Linked DNA regions of Homo sapiens: all the other regions are linked to region 1. The links are contacts of gene promoters, found by promoter capture Hi-C in blood cells and fetal thymus (Javierre and others, 2016). All regions are on one chromosome and are shown on one strand. Each heading gives the region's core, a stretch centred on a gene start or on the middle of the fragment in contact. The rest is flanking DNA. Distances are from core to core; before and after follow the strand shown. Region 1 holds the start of POLR2B (RNA polymerase II subunit B). Region 2 holds the start of USP46 (ubiquitin specific peptidase 46). Region 3 has its middle 3.2 kb from the start of DANCR. Region 4 overlaps SCFD2 (sec1 family domain containing 2). Region 5 overlaps LOC105377654 (a long non-coding RNA gene).

Region 1 (4,136 bases), core at 797-3,296:
TCTCAGCTACTCGGGAGGCTGAGGCAGGAGAACTGCTTGAACCTGGGAGATGGAGGTTACAGTGAGCCGAGATTGCGCCACCACACTCAAGCCTGGGCAACAGAGCAAGACCATCAAAAAAAAAAAAAGAAACTGTGGAGTGATAAGAACCTCTTATAACTGTTATAACTGTAGTTACCCACTGTGGAGAGTTCAAACTGGGCAGATGGTGGGTAAGAAGGAGACGTGACACTTTAACTTGTTTTTTTTGAGACAAGGTCTCACTTTGTTCTCAGCTCATAGCAGTGTCAACTTCCCAGGCTCAAGCGATCCTCCAGCCTCAGCCCCACAAGTAGCTGGGACTATAGGTGAGCAAGACCACGCCCAGCTAATTTTTCTATTTCTTATAGAGAGGGGTCTCCCATGTTGCCCAGGCTGCTCTCGAACTCCTGAGCTCAAGTAATCCACCCGCCTCAGACTCCCAAAATGCTGGGATAACAGGCGTGAGCCACTGCACCAGCCACCCCACTTTAACATTTTTAAATTTTCTGGCTTGTGAGCTATGAGAATATATTACCCAGCCAAAAATTATGCTTTAAAAATCTTTTTTTTCGAATTTTTCTTCTACTGAGATAGTAGTTAAAAAAGAACAAGGAATATAATGATGCTAATAAATTTCTACAACACAAGATATAAATGAGACAGAAGTTTAAACAGCTTTAAAAGTTTAAGCTTTTGGCTGGGCACATTGGCTCATGCTTGTAATCCCAGCACTTTGGGAGGCCGAGACAGGCAGATGGTTTGACCTCAGGAGTTTGAGACCAGCCTGGGCAACATGGCCAGACCCCATCTCTTAAAAAAAAAAAAAAAAAATTAAGCTTTTGCTTCAATTTTTTCCATCTGATTTATCAGAAGTACCTGAGGGAATAGAGAGAGGAGATGTAGGGGGTGGCCAAGGAATTGAGAGCTATAAGAAAATAAGGTTTGAATTAGCAGATATGGAGAATGGAAAAGGCGGCTACGAAAATACACTAGACTCAACTAAGAATTTTTTTTTTTTTTTTTTGAGACAGTCTAACTCTGTCACTCAGGCTGTGGTGTAGTGGTGCGATCTCAGCTCACTGCAAACTCCGCCTCCTGGGCTCAAGCGATCGTCCGGCCTCAGCCTCCCGAGTAGCTGGGATTACAGGCGCACGCCATCACACTAGGCTAATTTTTGTATTTTTAGTAGATACAGGATTTCCCCATGTTTGTCAGGTTGGTCTCAAGCGATCTGCACATCTCGGCCTCCCAAAGTGCTGACGGGAGCCACCGCGCTCGGCCACTACTAAGAATTCCATATGCGCAAACAAACAGGTATTATACATTGGCCCAGTGCAGCAGAATACATATCATCTGAGAACTGTGACATTGTGAGAAGAGGAAGTTAAAAGTCATCCTTTAAGACAATTTACTTTGACTTACAAACAGTATGAAGAAATGTCAGACTAAACCGAGTCCCCCCCGCCACCCCCACCCCCCGATATTCTCTGTCCCGGAATATTTCCAGGACCTTCCACACTGCCTGACACAGGCTGACACTCAACAATTGAGCTATTCGTTAAGTCGACTGTGGCTTTAAGGAAAATTTTTAAAGGGTGCCCTTTGCTTCAAATTCAAAACGTAATTTATCTTACGATTCTGCACGCTACTTCACCACAGGAAACGAGGATCAGATCTAACGGAACGAGAAAGTGCAGAGAGCAGCAGTGAACGTAACCTGGAACATTAACACTATGTTCCCTGCACCCTCCGCCTCTCCCTACCCCAGTTTCGTTCCCGGCCTGGTAAGTGTGGGAACAAGGCTGGGGACTGTGCAGCCGGCGCATGGGAAGGCCCCAAATCCTCAATCCAATCAGTTCCCAACGCTTTCCTGCTTAAATGGACCGCCACGGCGTGTGTTTTGAGCGTTCACCTACCCTCATCCGCGTCGTACATATTGCCAAACGGTTCTCGAGCTCCTAACTCTTGAAATCAAAAGACAAAAACCGCCCAGAAGCCAGCAGCGCCAGGAGCTAAAGACGAAGTAACTTCCGTCTCCGACGTTCCCAGAATACCACGCGTCTCACACCAAAGGCCGCCCACAGGGACGCCAAAGTTAGGATCTGCGCCTGCGCAAATTGTAGGTCAAGCTTGGGCCGGGGTTAGGGTTGCACACGCGTAAATTGTGGGCCGCCGCTGCCGGGCTGATTGAGAGGACAGCTCCCGCAATCTGCGGTCGTATCCGTTCCGTCAATGTTTTATTTCTGCTTGTTTTTCAATGTTGTTGCACAAATAACGACACCTGAAAACAAAACCAGGTATACTTATTATTAAAAAGTGTTCGTCCTGTGAATCCGCAACATTGGGATGCTCAATTTATTTGCCTTTATAAGGACCAAAACACGAAGCTATTTTTTATTTTTATTTATTTATTATTTTTTGAAATGGAGTCTCGCTCTGTCGCCCAGGCTGGAGTGCAGTGGAGCGATCTCGGCTCACTGCAACCTCCGTCTCCCGGGTTCAAGCGATTCTCCTGCCTCGGCCTCCCAAATAGCTGGGATTACAGGCAAGGGTCACCACGCCCGGGTAATTTTTGTATTTTTAGTAGAGACGGGGTTTCACCACGTTGGCCAGGCTGGTCTCGAACTGCTGACCTCAGGTGATCCACCCGCCTCGGCCTCCCAAAGTGCTGGGATTACAGGCGTGAGCCACGCGCCCGGCCGGAAGCTCCTTTCTGTTTTTGTTTTGTTTTGTTTTTTTGAGACAGGCTCGCTCTGTCGCCCAGGCTGGAGTGCAGTGGCGCGATCTCGGCTCACTGCAACCTCCGCCTCCCGCGTTCAAGCCATTCTCCTGCCTCAGCCTCCCGAGTAGCTGGGACTACAGGCGCCCGCCACCACGCCTGGCTAATTTTTTGTATTTTTAGCAGAGATGGGGGTTTCACCGTGTAAGCCAGGATGGTCTCGATCTCCTGACCTCATGATCCGCCCGCCTCGGCCTCCCAAATTGCTGGGATTACAGGCGTGAGCCACCGCGCCCGACCCCGGAAGCTCCTTTTTAAGTGTGATTTATTAAGGGCGGCTTGTGCTAGCAGTGAGGCGTTAAGCCTGAAAGTGAAAAAACCCAAAACACTCACTGCTCTTTTCTGCCCACCTAGCTCAATCCTCCAGTGCCTTTGCCATAGCTTTAAGTAGGTTCTCAGTCTCAGAGCTTAAATCGCGAGAACTGACGGGATTAGACGCAAAACCAACCAGGACAGCTCCCAAGTACCCACGCGCTTTCGTCTCGGGTCAAATGCGCGCCTCGGACCCTAGTGCGCGTGCGCGCTGGTGGCTCCGCCCCTTTGGAGCTACTTCCTCATGCTGCCCGCTCGCCTACCGTTCAGGCTGCTGAGCCTTTTCCTTCGTGGATCCGCTCCCACGGCAGCGCGCCATGGCCTCCGGGAGCCGCTCCTGGAGAGGAGGTGCGCTGCCGCCTCCTCCTTCCAGCACTCATCGAGTCTGGGACGCGAGCTTCCTTATGACCCCGTGGACACGGAGGGCTTTGGAGAAGGTGGTGACATGCAGGAGCGTTTTCTGTTCCCGGAGTACATCCTGGATCCGGAGCCGCAACCCACCCGCGAAAAGCAGCTGCAGGAGCTCCAGCAACAGCAGGAGGAGGAGGAGCGACAGAGGCAGCAGCGGCGGGAGGAGCGGCGACAGCAAAACCTACGGGCCAGGTCCCGGGAGCACCCGGTCGTGGGGCACCCGGACCCGGCATTGCCGCCCAGCGGCGTGAACTGCTCGGGCTGTGGGGCAGAGCTGCACTGCCAGGACGCCGGAGTGCCCGGCTACCTGCCCCGAGAGAAGTTCCTCCGCACGGCGGAGGCAGACGGCGGGCTGGCACGGACCGTGTGCCAGCGCTGCTGGCTGCTGTCGCACCACCGGCGCGCTCTACGCCTGCAGGTGAGCCGCGAGCAGTACCTGGAGCTGGTGAGCGCCGCGTTGCGGCGGCCCGGCCCCTCCCTGGTGCTCTACATGGTGGACCTGCTGGACCTGCCCGACGCCCTGCTGCCCGACTTGCCCGCGCTGGTGGGCCCCAAGCAGCTGATCGTGCTGGGAAACAAAGTGGACCTCCTGCCCCAGGATGCTCCTGGCTAC
Region 2 (4,136 bases), core at 1,161-3,660, 4.3 Mb after region 1:
TAGTGCCACCCTCTAACCCATCCTTCCATTTTCTTGCTTTTCCCAGTCCTAACTATACCTGCATATCAGCTTACCTCAAAGTTCTCTCATTAGCTTGTCAATATTTTTAAGATTTTACCTCTTATCATCCCTGAATAATGTTTCCTCAATGAGTGAAGCTAAGATTATGATTATTCTTCTTCAACCCAAGAATTTTCCAATTTAGACCTGTGAATACCACACTTGTGGAAATGTAAAATGTATTTAATCTTTCATAAGTCTGACAAGCTCTGCCATGTTCAACTGATTTGTTGTGTATGTAATTCACTGCCTGAGTTTCAATCTGGATGTCTATATTGAACACTTCAGTTTTAGGATATATACCATTAAAAGGTATGCAAAAGATCCTTTTAACTTGCTGATATAGCACTCAGTAATCAGATGCTGTTCAATTTCCATTATGTCGATGGTGTTTTCAATCCTGTGAACTTTGCAATCCATGCGCCAATGTTGGCAGAAATACTGAACTCTTATTACAAAATTTTCATATCATTTAAAGCTTTAGATTATTGCCTTTATAGTGGAACTTCTGTGAAATTGAGTCCTGAGATCTGAGTTTTAGCCTTGAGGTTGCTCCTGACCTTGAGACATTAATACTCAAATCTTAAAGTTTTCTGGGCCTCCGTGCTGGGATTGGTCATAGTTCAGTTGTTTCCTGTCTTCTCTCTTCTCTTCCTCTCCCAGAGTGCTCAGCCCAGGTTACCACACCAACTTAATCTGTAACATTTCGGTAAGTCATCTGGGCAGGATCCTTGATCCTCTAAGCCTTATGTGACTGATCTGCAAAAAAGGAGATAATAGCATGTACCAGCTGATAGTTATGGTGGCGATTAAAGGAGATCAGGAATGTAAACATTGGGTGCAGTGGTTCACGCCTGTTGTCCCAGCGCTTTGGGAGGCCAAGGTGGGATGATTGCTGGAGCCCAGGAGTTTGGGATGACTCGGGGCTGCCCAGCCTCAGGCTGGGCAACATAGCGAGAACCTGTCTCTTAAAAAACAGAGAGAGAGAGAAGAAAATCAGTCATGACTTACAATGGAAGAAATTATCATCAGGATGTATTTGGAAATAATATTTAGGTTGAAAGACTTAAGCAGGAATATTATTTCTCATGTCCACTGGAAAACACAGTGACATGACTCCCAAAACCTTCAGTCAACAAGTCTGTCTTACTGTTTCCTCCCCAGATTCTAGGGATATTAGCAATCAACGGCTCTCAAATCTTTACTCTTGGTTAGATAAAAGCTATCTTCAACTAATTTTTCTTCTGATTCAATTTGTCATTAAATACACTGATCTAAGAATTTATCACGCATCTCACTTGTACAATTTCTCCTTTGAAAGCATCGAATTGCAACCTTGTATGTGTAACTGTTCCACACATTCAGAAACGGGCCCCTTCAATTCGCGTGGACCTATCTGCTAAGTGGTGCACAGACTCGCGCTCTGAGCCCGCAGCCACGACCTTTAATGCGGGAAATGTGCATGATCCCATACAGCGCCCATCTCAACAACTAGAGGCTGGGTGCACCCGAGAGGGGTATGCCTGCCTTGAAGATATGGAAAAGTTTTGTTTTCGTTCTTTCCACTCCTTGGACAGTCCCTAGTGCTTGCGCGGAACCGGGACGTCTCCTTTGGACCCGCTAATGTCACAAGCCGCCCGAGCGCGCCGCTGCTGGCCTCCGCCCAGACCCGGATTCCTCCCCCTTCCCGGCGCCCTTTCTCGGGCGCCCGGCCCGCAGCTGGCGAGGGCTCTCTGACCGCTCCGGTGTCCTCGCCCCATTTTACTTCTTGGGTCCCCGCCGGTGCCATCTGGTTGGAACCCTCGGGAGGAACTAAAAGTTGGACGTCGCCACCCCTACCCCTCGCCAAAAAATAAACACCGGGGGCTGCCGAGGCCCGCCAGGAGGAAGGCGACGAGGAAAAAGCGAGGACGGAAGGCGGCCCCGGGTTCGCCCCGGCCTGGGCCGCCCGCTTCCCCACCCCGCGCACCGTACCGTCCCCGGCTCCCTGGCTCCCCGACGGCGAGGAGGGCCGCCGCTTCCGCGTCGGGGTCGGCCGGGGGACCTGCGAGGTGCGGCTGCCGCAGCGGCGCGCCCCGGAGCCTGGCCCGGCATTCCAGTCCGAATAGAAAGAGGCAGGGAATCAAATGGAAAAGCAGGAGGCCAGGCCTGGGCGGGCGAGCTGGGAAGGAGGCGGCGCGGCGGGGCCCGGGAACCCAGCCTGGAGCGCTCTGAGCGGCCGGCTCGGACTCACGCGGCGCGCCCGGGCCGCCCCTCCTCCCCGCGCCGCCGGCCGCGGCCCAGGCTCCCTCGCTCCGCCACTCCCCGCCCCTCCGCGCTCCCTCCCCGCCCTCCCCGCGCCGCCGCCTCCTCCTCCCGGCCTCCCTCTCCCAGCCAAACTGAAAGCCGGACCCCAGGCCGCCGCGCTGCCGCCCGGCCTCCCCGCCAGCGCGCCACCATGGGCAGTCCCGGTTTCCCCTTGTAAAGATGGCGGTGAGGGATCGCTGCAACCTTTAGACTAATGACTGTCCGAAACATCGCCTCCATCTGTAATATGGTGAGTGGCCGAGCCGCCTCGGGGTCGCGCCCGACTCGCGGCGAGGCAAAGAAAGGGAAGCCCGAGCTGCACACACGCCCGGTGGCTGGGGCGGCGGGGGCGGCGGGGTCCGCGCCGCCAGAAGTTCCCGGCCCCCGAGCTGGGCGCGCGGCCGCAGCCACCTCAGCGGCCGGGGAGGGTCCCCGAGCCCCCGGCGCCCGTCTCAGCCCCGGGACCTCGGAACCCGCCCGGCGATCCCGGGGCCGCGCTGCTGCGCCCCCCGCCCTCGGGTTGCGGTGGAAGCGGCTTGAGGGAAGGGAAGCGACCGAACCTGAACGTCCCCGGGGAGGGGGTGGGGGATAAGCTGGAGGTGGGGGGCACCCATCCTCTTCTTGCGGTCAAGACAGCCTTATTGGACGTCCAGACTGCCCTCATCTCATTTTGAGTTCAGTCCTTCCGAGGTGTTTAAAATTCACTTTGCAATAGCAATTGTGTATCTGGAGAAATCGGAAATGTAATAAAGCTGTAAAAAAAGTGCAAAATTGTGGCTGGAGAAGTGAACTTCAACCTGGTTTGAAAAAGCACCGTAATTTGCTCCGCATGCCTCAGTTTCCCCATCTGTGAAAAAGGGACAAGGCTCTGTGGCGGTAATATTTGCAGGCCCTAAGGGTGGGGCGGGCTGTGGGCTTGGAGGAGGTCTCCAGGGTTATCCTGCCTGATCCGCTGTAGACCTAGGGGAGGCTGGCGGGCATGGATACAGCCAGGGACATCACTGGGTTCTGATGCAGTCCGAGCCCATGATGCGGTGGTCACTTTAATTTGGGTTTCCCCCATTGCTTTCCCTTTTTCTGTAGGAAGAACCTCCAGCCCTTGGGTCCCCAGGCTGGACCCTGCTGGCGCCTCCACTTGTCAGAGCCTTTGGGGAGCTCAGATTGGAGTAAGGCATTGCTGTCCCTTGCAGGGTGAGATGATGTGTGTTTTGCCTACATTCTTTAGACTGCACCCCGCCTCCCCTCTAGCCCCCTCCCAAGCGGGTCCCCGGAGGCAACACGTGCTCTTACAGTGCCAGTTTGAGGAAAACCTCCCTTGAAGCTAGTAATACTGGCCCCTAAAGGGAATCCAAGGAAGCTTGATGGAGAAGCCCTGGTGTAAGGTGATCTGGCTGCCCTTCCCCCATCACATAGCTTTTTAAATCTTCTGTCCCACATTCTGTTGCAAGATCAACACATGGCAAAGGAGCATTAAGAAGCCTTGTGTTAGCTCAGGGGTGGAATTGAGACCCGCTGGCTTCAGCTTTCAGCACAATGGGACGTGCCACTGTCACGGCCAGCAAAGCAAATGCTGGGGCCTCCCAGAGTGATAGCTGCACAGGTACTGGTTGGTGCCGGGCGAGTTCCATACGGGGAGTGGATCCTAGAGCCTTTCTGTTTTCTCTTTTTTTCCTTTCTCTGCGAGGAGTCAGATTTCCTCTTATTCCTGTGGAGGGGCTGCTTGTGAAGAGGTGATGCCTTCTCAGTTTCTCTCCTACGACCAGTTCCTGAGGGAACTGTGAATCGGGAGC
Region 3 (4,136 bases), core at 714-3,213, 4.3 Mb after region 1:
AGAGTTTTTTTGTTTTGTTTTGTTTTTGAGATGGAGTCTCGCTCTGTTGCCCAGACTGGAGTATAGTGGCACGATCTTGGCTCACTGCAGCCTCCACCTCCCAAGTTCAAACTATTCTCGTCTCGGCCTCCCGGGTAGTTGGGATTACAGGCATGCACCACCATGCCTGGTTAATTTTTGTATTTGTGAAAGAGTTTATACTTTGTGCTAAGAATGATGGAAAGCTGTTCAAGTGTTTTGTTTGTTTGTTGTGTGTGTGTGTGTGTGTTTTAACAGGGGAATGATAGGATCTGATGTAGGGTGTGGTTTCGGGTGTGATTAAGGTGGTTTTGGTGGGAAGAAGAAGTTGAGTAAAATTTACCAATAAACCCTAGCACCTAGTCATCATCTTGCAGATATTCATAGGATCTTGTTGAAATTGGAGAGTGAATACCAGTTTGTTGTCCCTTCACCTTTCTCAAGAGTCTTCCAAACATATCTCTAGTTGGAATCTGTTCTTTTTATAGTCCCTTTGGATAGCTGAGAGATATTACCTTTCCTTTAACTATGGCAATGCATGTGGTCAGGCAACATGGGAAAATATAGGAAAAGAGAAGTAAATCTCCTTAGTAAAGAGACTAATGCAGGAATTCAGCAGCAACCTAGCAGGGGCTGGGGGTAGTTGTGCAGAATGTCTTCCCTCCTCCCCAAATCAGGGGATAAAAATGGGAAGGAATTATGAAAGAATTATATTTGTGTTTGATTTAAGAGAAATTCACCTTAATCTGAAGGCTTCACATTTCTGGCCAAATACCTCAATTCAATGAACTTACAAACAGTTCATTCGAAATAGTAAAACTGTTCACTGGGCTTAGAGGAGAAATGTCTATTAAATACAGAGACAATAGAACAAAATAAACTGATTTATAATTGCTTTTGAGTTAGGTTCAAGATAATATATATTTGGTACTAAAAATCCTTATAATGCAGTTTAAAGAGAATTGTTTCAATTGGGTTTATTATTAGGCCTAATTTTTTTAGAGAAATTAGTATGTCTAATCAATCCTTCTTTCTTTCTTTTCTTTCTTTCTTTTCTTTCCCTCCCTCCCTCCCTTCCTTCCTTTTCTTTTCTCTCTCTCTCTCTTTCTTGCTCTCTCTCTCGTCTCTCTCCCTCTCCCTTTCTTTTCCCTTTGACAGGGTCTTACTCTATCACTCAGGCTAGAGTGCAGTGGCACAATCATAGCTCACGGGTCAGGCTCCAACTCCTAGGCTTAAGTGATCCTCCCACCTCAGCCTCCCAAAGCATTGGCATTACAGATGTGAGCCACCACGACTGGCCAATCTGTCCAATTTGAGGGAGTTCAGTCTCTCCAAATTTAATCTGTCGGAAGTTGAATAAAGGGACCTAGAAGAATACCCACCAGCCCTCCAGATATTCTCAGCTGGATTTCCCAGAGACACCACAAAATCACTCTTTTGGCCCAGAATTTATTCTCTTCTTCCACCCCTCCACTTCCTTTTTGTGTCCTCTGTCTTGAAGAATAACAATTCCTTAGCCCAGCTGTCCAGGACTTAGCGCAAATGCTTTCCTTTCTCAGTCTCCTCCTCCATTTCTCAGCCTCCTACTTCCTCATCTTCTTCCATGCGGGCAGTTCTTCCTATTGACCACCATGACTCTGCCTCTTCTTTCCAGCCCTTGCTTGTACTTTAGTTCTAGCTCCATCATTTACTTTCAGCATCATCCACTGCAGTAGCCTCCACCTTCATTCAGCTTCCCTGTCTCCAGTGTTCCCTTCCCCATGAATTCTTCCACACTGCTGTCATCTCCATTGGAAATTGTTAAATGGCTCTTTACTGCCACCAGAAACAAAACCAACCTCCACCTATCTACTTCCTCCTCTCACTTCCCACATACCTATTATAATCCAACCATGCTGAACTAATGGCAGTCCCCTGAATGCTGTCCAGCACTCTCCCATACAACTTTCTGCAGTGATGGAAATGTTCTATATCTCTGCTGTCCAGTATGGTAGCCACATGTGGCTATTGAGTACTTGAAATGTGACTAGCACAACACAAGACCTGGATCTTAAACTTCATTTACTTTTAACTAATTTAAATTTAAATAGTCATGCTGGGCCTGGTGGTGGTATGCCTATAATCCCAGCTACGTGGGCAGAAGTCTGAGGTGGGAGGATCCCTTGAGGCCAGAAGTTTGAGGTTGCAGTGTGCTCAGACAGTGCCTGTGAATAGCCACTGCACTCCAGCTGCCGCAATATAGCAAGACTCCATCTCTACAGAAAAAAAAAATTAGCCAAGCATGGCAGAACAGGCCTGTAGTCCCAGCTACTCAGGCAGCTGAGGCAAGAGGATCACTTGAGCTCAGGATTCAAGGCTGCAGTGACCTATGATGGCACTACAGCACTCCAGACTGGGTGACAGAGCAAGACATCTAAGATAAATAAATAGATAAAAATAAAAGTCACATGTGGCTGGTAGATACTACATTGAACTGCACAATAGTTTACATCCTTGCTTCTCAAAGCGTGGTCCATCAGCCTGGGCATTCCCTGGAAACTTGTAGTAATGCATAATCTCAGGCCTCATCCCAGATCTGCTGATTCGGAATCTATATTTCAACAAGATCCCCAGGTGATCTGTATGCACATTAAAGTTTCAAGAGCCACAGCTCTAATAAGCTCTTGCTTCCTTGCCTTTGCATGTGGTGTTCTCTTCGTCTGGGCTGCCTGTCACCTGTTCTTTTTTCCTTAACTCCTACTTATCCCTAGACCTATCTACACTCACAACCTGCTGTTAATATGGTAATCCAGAGGGTAGGGGATGAAGGATATGGGGGAGAGGAGTGAGAGGGAAGGAGAAAATATCTATGATAAAACCACTTGTATCTTGTAATCTTAAATAACTATATGTATGTAGCTATATAATATAAATACATACATACTATGTATATATTTATAGTATAGTATGTATATATGTATAGTATTCTATGTATATACATGTACAAGTATAGTTTGTGTGTGTGTGTGTGTGTGTGTGTGTGAAAATATGGTTACTACAATGTCAGTGGTATTTCTCTCAAGGTGATGGGATTTCATGTGTCTTACTTTCTAAAAATATTTTTGAGGTATCATTCAAATTCTTTACAAAGAGCATGTATTACTGATATAATAATTTTCATTACAGAAAACAAAATAAGGGCTATATTAGCCTTTTGTAAGTAACTTCAAGAACACGATATCGGAATAAAGTATAGCGTTTTACAAAAAAGGAGAGCCCCCACCTTCCACAGTTAGAGACACTCCCTTGTCTACAACACAAGAGCGGGCAGTAGGCATGGCATAGGCAACAACCAACCTGAAAGCAGAAGAATGATCTCTTGTGATGCCTCCACTGCTGTCTCCTGTGTCTACCCTCCCACCCCCACAGCAGACATGGTCCTAGCACCACGACAATCACCTCTTCTCCATCCCCTGCCTGACTCCTAGCTAGGGCTGGAGTCTGAAAAGGGGCCTTAGGTGTACAGAGAAGGTCACCTGGAATCACTAGAAGCATCTGCAGAAGTATATGGATATGTTGGGTGACTCAGATGACATCTCGTTTGGTCCTTAGCATCAAGGTTTTGTTCTATCAAATATTCTATTAAGAACGAATGTTTTCATTTTTTGGCTATTGTATTTCTTTTCTAAATTTTGGCAATTTTTTCTTTACTGAAAAAAAGATGACAATTACCTGAGAGGTTATTTTAAATTCATGGCAAAATGTGTTTTGCTGAGCTATGGGATGCAATTTCTGCAGATCTTAGTGTGCTCAGCTGTGGAAGTCAGTTATAGGGTATAGAGTTCTGGTGGTAGGGTAAGGCCCAAAAAGCCACCAGAATGAATAGAGGAGACAACATAGCCTGGAGCCAAGACATAGTTTATATTCTGCACAGTAACTAATTTGCAAAAATAACAGGATGTTGTGAAATTTGATTAAGCAGCAAGGTGAGGGAGGCATTTTGGGGGGTTAGATCAAATTATTATTATTAAGGGTATTGTACAAGTTCCAATTCAATTCTAAAGATAGAAGGAAATTTATATTCTTTATTTTAAAACAAGTTGGCTTATCTAAATAAGTAACAAACTCAGTGTTTTATT
Region 4 (4,136 bases), core at 766-3,265, 3.6 Mb after region 1:
GCACTCTGCATATGTAAATTCCTTTAATTTTCACAATAATTTTTGAGATAAGTATTATAATTATCCCAATTTTACGGATGAAACTGAAGCACAGAGGAGTTAAATAACTTGCCTCAGATTACACATGTGTTAAGTGGCAGAGCTAGGATTTGAACCTTGGCAGTTTGCTCCAGTGACTACTCTCATATGTGGGTGTGGGAAAAGTTTGAGAACTGTTGTCCTGCACAGTAGAGATGATCATTATATGGTGTGTCCGGAAGTTAGCAGCTTCAGAGACTAAACATTTGGACTCCAGTGCTGCTTTAGTGCTCAGAAAAGTGTCTGATTTTTTTTCTCCCCGATCTGCTTTTCCAAAACATGCAAACTAACTAACTTATATCTTTATTTCAGGGTTCAGAAGATACTATTTAAAATAAATAGGTATGAGACACAGTTGGGAAGCCATATAAAGGCTGACTAGATTTTTGGTGTTAGATCCATGCCAGGATAACCTCACATCCTGGCTTAGTGACTTTTTTTGTGCTATTTGACCCTCATTGAGCTGTTGAGGTTTTCTCATTTGTAAAGAGGGAAAAATATCCACCTGTTTTTGTATTCTAACCTGTGGGAAGAATATGAAATAATTCCTTTTTTTTTTTGAGACAGAGTCTTGCACTATTGCCCAGGCTGGTATGCAGTGGCTCAATCTCAGCTCACTGAAACCTCCGCCTCTTGGATTCAAGCGATTCTTGTGCCTCAGCCTCCTGAGTGGCTGGGATTATAGGCACATACCTCTATACCTGGCTAATTTATATATATATATTTTTTAGTAGAGATGGGGCTTTACCATGTTGGCCAGACTGGTCTTAAACTCCTGACCTCAAGTGACCCTCCCACCTCAGCCTCCCAAAGTGCTGAGATTACAGGCATCAGCCACCGAGCCTGGCTTGAAATAATTCCTTCATTCAAAAATACATATTATCTATTACTCAAGGAATAGGGGAAATAGTGCTAAAAATATCCAAATCCTTCCAGTTAGGAAGTTTAAATTTTGTTTGGGAATGAAGACAGTAAACAAATTACTAATATCAGTATAATAATATGGGCTATTAATATTAATGAAGGTAGGTGTGGTGGTTTAAAAATATGTCTACAACCCTGTCTCTACTAAAAAATACAAAAAATTATCCGGGCGTGGTGGCAGGCGCCTGTAGTCCCAGCTACTCCGGAGGCTGAGGCAGGAGAATGGCGTGAACCGAGGAGGTGGAGCTTGCAGTGAGCCGAGATCGCGCCACTGCACTCCAGGCTGGGTGACAGAGCAAGACTATGTCTCAACAAAAAAAAAAAAAAAAAAAAGTCTACAAGTTGGGTGTGGTGACTCACACCTGCAACCCCAGCACTTTGGGAGGCCAAAGTGGTGGATCACTTGAGCCCAGAAGTTCGAGACCAGCCTTGGCAATATGGTGAAACCCCATCTCTACAAAAAATACAAAAAATTAGCTGGGCATGGTGTTGCATGCTGTAGTGCCAGCTCTTCAGGAGGCTGAGGTGGGAGGATCACCTGAGTCTGGGAAATCTAGGCTGCAGTGAGCCATGATTGAGCCACTGCACTCCTGCCTGGGCAACAGAGCAAGACCTTGTCTCTCTCTCTCTATATATGTCTACAAATTCTTTGATACCTCTTCCTTCAAGAAATACAGTTTAAATTCCCCTGCCCTTGAGTGTGGGCTAGGTTTAGTGACTCACTTATCCCCTTCTCCCTAAAATAGCATAGGGCAGAAATGCAGAAGTGTAATTTTCAAGACCAGGTCCTAAAAGGTATTGCATCTTTTTCTTTGCTTTGTTCTTTTGGATCACTGGCTCTGAGGGAAGTTAGCTACCATGTCATGAAGAGACTCAAGCAGCCCTATGGGAGGCCCATGTAGTGAGGAAATGGGATTCCTTTCAACAGCCAATGAGGAACTGAGGCCTCCTGTCAATAGCTTTGTGAGTGAGCCATCTGAGAAATAGATCCTCCAGCCCAGTCAAGCATTCAGATGACTGCAGCCCCAGCTGACATATTGACTGCAATTTTATGAGAGTCTCTGAGTCAGACCCAGTTAAGCCACTCTGAATTCTTGGATGCATAGAAACAGTTGAGATTAATACATGTGGTTTTAAGACAGTAAGTTTTGAGAGGATGCGACATTTGAACAGAGGCCGAAAGAAGGGAGGAAGCATACCATGTGGCTACCTAATGATAGAACATATAAGATCCAGGGAATGGCAAGTGCAATGGGCCTAAGGTGGGAGCATGTGTGTCATGCTTGAGGACCACTAGGAGCCCAGTTTGGCTAAAGTGTTGTGAGCAAGAGGGAACACCGATAGGAGATCAGTTGGAGGGGTAGGTTGAGGGAATGCTTTGTAGGTTAAAATAAGGATTTAGAATAATAGCCAAAGTATAATGGGAATCAGTTGGAGAGTTTTGAGCTGTGATGTGATATGATCAAATTTATGTTATATAGGATCATTTATGTAAAGAGTATGAGGATTGAGGTAGATCCTCAATATATGGTAGCTACTGTTACTAAAGAGATTACGAGAGCTTAGTTATAGTAATCTTAGCTCTGCCCTTTCCTAGTCAAAAGTCCTTGGGCAAGTTGCCTAACTTCTGCCTCTCAGTTTCCTGATCTGTAAAATAAGGACCTCAGAGAGTAACTGAGAGGGTAAAATAAGTTAACATGTCTATCTTCTAGAATAGCTAGAGAAAAAAATGAAGTAGAGTAAGTGAAAGGTTCCCCCTGCATGATCCTGCAAGATCACTACAATTCTGGTTACTCAAGACAGTGTTAAAAATGGTATGAATGATCTCTGTTCATTTCATAAGCATATTAGTCAGGATTCTCCAGAGGGACAGAACTAACGGAATATATGTATTGAGCTCTTATGAAGACTTCTCAATGCTTGCTTCTCATTTTATTCCATATAAGACTTAAAGACAAGTGAAGATGTTACATGCCTTATGATAATGACACTGACACACATAAAATCCACAGGATCATACAGAATTGGTATTTTCTGGTCCCGGTAACTTGAAAAGTTTAGCCCTTGAAGCAATTGGCTTAATTTAGGATCTCAAATCCTTGAAGCAATTGGCTTAATTTAGGATCTCAAATCCTGGGAATAGTTTCAACTATCTGGGAAACTAAGGTGGGAGAGTTGCTTGAGCTCAGAGTTCAAGGCTACAGTGAGCTATGATTGCACTCCAGCTTGGGCAACAGAGTGAGACTCTGCCTCTAAAAAAAAGAAAAAAAAATAGAAGAAAAAGAAAAGAATATAAAAAAATTCAGCTTTAAAATTTCAGGATAGTATCATCTTATGACACTATTTACCTGACTGACTAGATACAGGTTATTTATTTATTCATTCATTAAGCAAATGCTTATTGATGCCTACTATATGTAGGCACTGTGCTAGTGAGAGGTGACAAAGTGTTAGCAGCCCTTGCTCGCTCTCAGTGCCTCCTCGGCCTCGGTGTCTGCTCTGGCCACACTTGAGGAGCCCTTTAGCCTGCCGCTGCACTGTGGGAGCCCCTCTCTGGGCTGGTTGAGGCCGGAGCCAGCTCACTTGGCTTGCCGGGAGATGTGGAGGAAGAGGCACGGGCAGGAACCAGGCCTGCACTGCGGCGCTGGCAGGCCAGTGTGAGTTCCATGTGGGCGTGGGCTCGGCGCGCCCCACACTTGGAGTGGCCGGCCGGTCCAGGCAGTGAGGGGCTTAGCACCTGGGCCAGCAGCTGCAGAGGGTGCGCTGGGTCCCCCAGCACTCCCAGCCCACCCACACCACGATTGAATTCTCGCCAGGCCTCAGCCACCTCCCCGCGGGGCAGGGCTTGGTACCTGCAGCCCGCCATGCCCGAGCACCACCCCTTCCCCCTGTGGGCTCCTATGGGGCCCGAGCCTCCCCAACGGGCACTGTCCCCTGCTCCGCAGCACCCTGTCCCATCGACGGCCCAAGGGCCGAAGAATGTGGGCACGTGGTGCAGGACTGGTGGGCAGCTCCAGCTGCAGCCCTGGCGCGTGATCCACTAGGCGAAGCTAGCTGGGCTCTTGAGTTGGGTGGGGACTTAGAGAACTTTTATGTCTAGCTAGAGGATTGTAAATGCACCAATCAGCACTTTG
Region 5 (4,136 bases), core at 1,024-3,523, 3.6 Mb after region 1:
AAGCACAAATGAAGGGTTTACGCCCAACCAATATCTCACATTATTTAAACAAACCATGTGGTTTTAATCTTTCTTACCTTTGAACACACTTCTGCCAGCTATTCCCAGCTCCCTTATCTTTTTATGATAATCTCTTGCATCCTTCTAAACTCTCTGGGGGTATAATCACCTTTGTGAAATCTTTCCTGAATCCCATTTTATCTCTTCCCATTTGTTTTGCCAGGAACTCTTCCAGCTATGTAGATTCAACAGTGAATAAAACAAAGTTCTTTCTTTTGTGGAGCTTTGATTCTAATAAGAGAGTCAGATAATAAACATATGAACGTATGATATGTCATGATGACAAGAATTGTGAAAAGAGTAAGCAATATAAAATGAAGTGATGGGGTGCAATTTTATATGGAGTGGTCAGGGAAAGCTACTCTGATGAAGTGATACAAGAGACTTGAATGGAGACAGGAGGTGAGCCCCGTGGATTTCGGGGTGACAGACTATCAAACAGAGGAATAAGAAGTGCAAAGGCCCTGAGGTAGAAGCATACTTGGCATGTTCAAGAAACTCAAAATGTAGCTAAAGTATAGTGAGTGAGAGAGAATGCAGATGAGGTCAGATGTATTTGGGGGGTGAGTGGGACAGAGCAACTCACTCCTTCTAGACACCATGCTGCTTCTATGCCATGTGCCTATCACACTGTATAGTAATTATTTGACTATATTTCTGTTTGCCTCAGGCTCTTCGCTAGACCAAGTCCACCTCCAAACAGGGCATCCCATAGCCATCACTTCAATTCCTAGTATAGTGCTTAACGCTGAGTAAATCTTCTTGGTCACTGTTGAAAGTAATAGAATGAAGTCTTATAGACTGTTTATGAGTATCGTAAGGCAATCACTCACAGTCCTGTCTATTGATCGTTCTATTTATTTAATTGGTTTCATGAGAAAACCAATTGCCTTTTGTTAAGGGATCTTTTTCTGTTTTCAGCTGCCTTTCAAGGCATTGCTTAAACATAACTGAAGAAATGATGAACAATACTAGAATAGCTTTTGTGGTGGAGGTAGCATTTGAGCTAAGCTTTGAAAATGAAGATTTCCACAAGCAAAGAAGCACATAAATCACTAATAACTACTCTGAAAAGACCTCTTCCTCCTTGCTTCTAAGCTGAGTTTCTTGCCTGAATATGCTTTCTTAGTTAAAGGTATCTTTCTCTCCCTGCTCACCAGGGGAGACATCAAAGGTAGGTAGTTTGAAGATATTATATATTCCTCCTTCCATTTCTTATATTATGACCTTATCAAACTACAGTGCTCCATATATTCTATTTGTTTTCCATTTTATTGTTGTTTTGTGGTCTGTTGGTTTCTGGCAAAAAAAATTAAAAGATAAGTTTTAATATACTTATCTCTGAGAAGTACTGAGAGTGTTTAGTAGATGATGATGAGTTAAATGATGACAAGAATTGGAGATCAAATAAAAATGCCTTGCTCACTATCCAGTATATATAGCAAGTACACATAAATGTGTTTGGCATGCATATGATGTTTATGCCCAACTGTGCTCTTTGCTGTCACATAAATTTCAATGTTCTTAAATTCTCAATGTTCTTAAGTTTCCTCAGCAGTAAATTGATACATTAAAATGACATTTGTACCAATATTGGGGAAGAATAACAAAGCTAAATTGAGGTTTCAAATGTCAAAGCATCTAGCCAGGCACGGTGGCTCACGCCTGTAATCCCAGCACTTTGGGAGGCCGAGGCAGGCGGATCACCTGAGGTCAGGAGTTCAAGACCAGCCTGCTCAACATAGTGAAACATTGTTTCTACTAAAAACACAAAAATTAGCTGGGCATTGTGGCACGCACCTGTGATTCCAACTACTCAGGAGGCTGAGGCAGAAGAATCGCTTGAACCCAGGAGGAGGAGGTTGCAGTGAGCCAAGATCCCATCATTGCACTCCAGCCTGGGCGACAGAGCAAGACTCCGTCTCAAAAAAAAAAAAAAGTCAAAGCATTTGACAAGTTATTGACAAGCAGGTAACATGTTGTTTAGGACTTTTCTTCTTTGAACAAGCAAAGTAATTGTACGTGTGTAGAGCTTTCCTTCCTCTTTATGTACTTCCATGATAAATTAAACCCCAATTAGCCATCTTCCTCTACATCCTGACATCTTTTAACAATAAACTTTACCTAGTCCTAAGTTTAGCTCATCAAAAAAGAAAAAATAAATTTTCTATTGCTAGTTGTTTCTGGAAAATTGTATTATTTCCTATTCATGTCTGTGCTGTCAGTAAACTTCGCATACTCTTTTTAAAGGTGAGAACAAAATCGTTTTATTTCTGTATTTGCCAGGTCCTCTCTTACAACATCAAGTACATGGAAAGTTCTTAAGCTAAGAACTGATCATGCCTATGGATGACCTAGAAATGAGGTGAAGAGAGATATGTTGGATTTTGGACAGAAGAGAAACAATAGCTGACTATTTTGAGCAGAGAAATACAAATCACATTTTAATAAAATAAACATGACGGTCTTAAGCAGGTCATTTTAATAGGAATTCATTTTACTCCACCATAACATCTGAAAGCAAGAAATGACTTTTGCCTGGGCTCTCCTACCTTTTCTGTCCACCCTGTCTCCCAAGTCATTTCCTCCAGCTTCATGACTTTTATTTATGTACATATGTATGTATGTATTTACTTATTTATTGAGACGGAGACTCACTCTGTCACCCAGGCTGGAGTGCAGTGGCATGATCTTGGCTCACTACAACCTCCCCCTGTCAGGTTCAAACAATTCTCCTGCCTCAGCCTCCCCAGTAGCTGGGATTACAGGTTCATGTCACCATGCCCAGCCAATTTTTGTATCTTTAGTAGAGATGAGGTTTCACCATGTTGACCAGGCTGGTCTCGAATTCCTGACCTCAAGTGTTCTGCCCACCTCAGCCTCCCAAAGTGCTGAGATTACAGGTCTGAGCCCCACGCCTGGCCTCCATGACTTTTAATGTCATGTCATTGAGAGCCACTGACACCCATATTTCTCTGGGCAGTCTTAACTTCTCTTTGAGCTCAAGATACTCGGTCTGACTCAAATGCTTCACCTGATGCCTCTCTTAGGCCTTTAAAACTTATGTTCAAAACACAACTTATAAATTTCTCTCCCATATCTGTCTTGTCCCACTCCCATACTCCCAAAGACTTCTTCATATTAATATCAGTAACCACCATTTAACTAGTTGTTTTAGCCATAAATCAAAGAATTATCCTTGACTTTTCTGTCTTCCCCATCTGCTCTTCTCACAACTATGCAAATCAGTTAGCAAGATCTGTTAGTGCTTCTCATTAAAACGTATCTCAAATCTATCTACTTCTTTCCATCTGCACTGCCACACTGAAATTCTAGGAACACAAAACCCTTCCGTGGCCTTCTCTTAAATATGAAATAAAATCTAAACTTCCTACCATATGGCCTACAAGCTTCTTCACGGTCTGACAGTCCCTCAAGTTGCATGTGGCTATACAGGCTCTGCATTGCACAACTTTTAGGGGTGTCTGTATCACCTCATTCTTAGTCATCATTTGTCAAATCTTTTAATGTTTTCCCTCATATCACTGCTATAGTCTAAATTTTTGTGTTTCTCCAAAGTTCATATGCCTAAACCTTAATCCTCAATGTGATGGTGTTTGGATATGGGGATTTTGTGAGGTAATTAAGTCCTCCCTAATGGAGAGGGGTTTGGACTTTCATAAGAAAAGACAGGAGAGCTTGCTTCCTCTCTGCCTGCTTTTCACCAACTGAGAATACAGCACAAAGGTGGCCAGCCATTGGTGAGCCAGAGAGAGGGCTGCCATTAGAAATGAATTATGTGAGCACCTTGATTTTGTACTTTCCAGTCTCCAGAACAGTGAGAAATAAACTTTCTTTGCTTATGTCACCCAGTCTATGGTATTTTTGTTGTGACAGCCCAAACTAAGACAGTCTCTGTGCTTATTCCCTCCAAGTTCTTCCAGACCTGATCCCCAACTCTGCATTTAGCTCTCAGTCCCTACCTTTGTTCCATTTTATGTGCATGCCCAACAGTTTCAGTATTTTAGCAGAAGGATGTCTCTACTTGTTCACTAAACCAAAATCTAACTTCCCTC

The links. The method cuts DNA at HindIII sites, captures the fragments that hold promoters and counts their contacts. A CHiCAGO score of 5 or more calls a contact.
Region 2: the fragment with the promoter of USP46 here is called in contact with the fragment with the promoter of POLR2B in region 1 in 1 of 17 cell types (activated CD4 T cells); the score reaches 9.2 in activated CD4 T cells.
Region 3: a fragment that was not itself captured here is called in contact with the fragment with the promoter of POLR2B in region 1 in 2 of 17 cell types (activated CD4 T cells and naive CD8 T cells); the score reaches 6.2 in activated CD4 T cells.
Region 4: a fragment that was not itself captured here is called in contact with the fragment with the promoter of POLR2B in region 1 in 1 of 17 cell types (monocytes); the score reaches 6.5 in monocytes.
Region 5: a contact is called between a fragment that was not itself captured here and the fragment with the promoter of POLR2B in region 1, in 4 of 17 cell types (non-activated CD4 T cells, total CD8 T cells, fetal thymus and 1 more). The highest score is 8.0, in non-activated CD4 T cells.

What each region holds. Positions count from the first base shown.
Region 1 is chr4:56,976,806-56,980,941 of GRCh38, reverse strand. POLR2B (RNA polymerase II subunit B) reads right to left here and starts at 2,046. Exons shown (of 25, transcript NM_000938.3): 1 at 1,938-2,046. The coding sequence starts at 1,956. NOA1 (nitric oxide associated 1) reads left to right here and starts at 3,336. Exons shown (of 7, transcript NM_032313.4): 1 at 3,336-4,136. The coding sequence starts at 3,357. RefSeq lists enhancers at 1,673-1,772, 3,594-3,663, 4,044-4,103 and a silencer at 3,764-3,843. The HindIII fragment of the contact is 1,293 bases long and covers 860-2,152 here.
Region 2 is chr4:52,657,575-52,661,710 of GRCh38, reverse strand. It overlaps USP46 (ubiquitin specific peptidase 46), which reads left to right and starts at 2,410. Exons shown (of 9, transcript NM_022832.4): 1 at 2,410-2,596. The coding sequence starts at 2,561. USP46-DT (USP46 divergent transcript) reads right to left here and starts at 2,305. Exons shown (of 2, transcript NR_125363.1): 1 at 2,035-2,305; 2 at 213-819. RefSeq lists silencers at 1,997-2,426, 2,437-2,956. The HindIII fragment of the contact is 3,165 bases long and covers 541-3,705 here.
Region 3 is chr4:52,707,142-52,711,277 of GRCh38, reverse strand. No RefSeq gene overlaps it. Among named protein-coding and RNA genes, the nearest start is that of DANCR, 3.2 kb to the left of the region's middle. The HindIII fragment of the contact is 5,324 bases long and covers 1-4,136 here.
Region 4 is chr4:53,353,931-53,358,066 of GRCh38, reverse strand. The region is part of intron 1 of SCFD2 (sec1 family domain containing 2); the gene reads left to right. Among named protein-coding and RNA genes, the nearest start is that of SCFD2, 10 kb to the left of the region's middle. The HindIII fragment of the contact is 7,385 bases long and covers 1-4,136 here.
Region 5 is chr4:53,371,443-53,375,578 of GRCh38, reverse strand. LOC105377654 (a long non-coding RNA gene) reads left to right here. Exons shown (of 3, transcript XR_007058118.1): 3 at 982-1,410. Among named protein-coding and RNA genes, the nearest start is that of FIP1L1, 4.1 kb to the left of the region's middle. The HindIII fragment of the contact is 2,399 bases long and covers 1,074-3,472 here.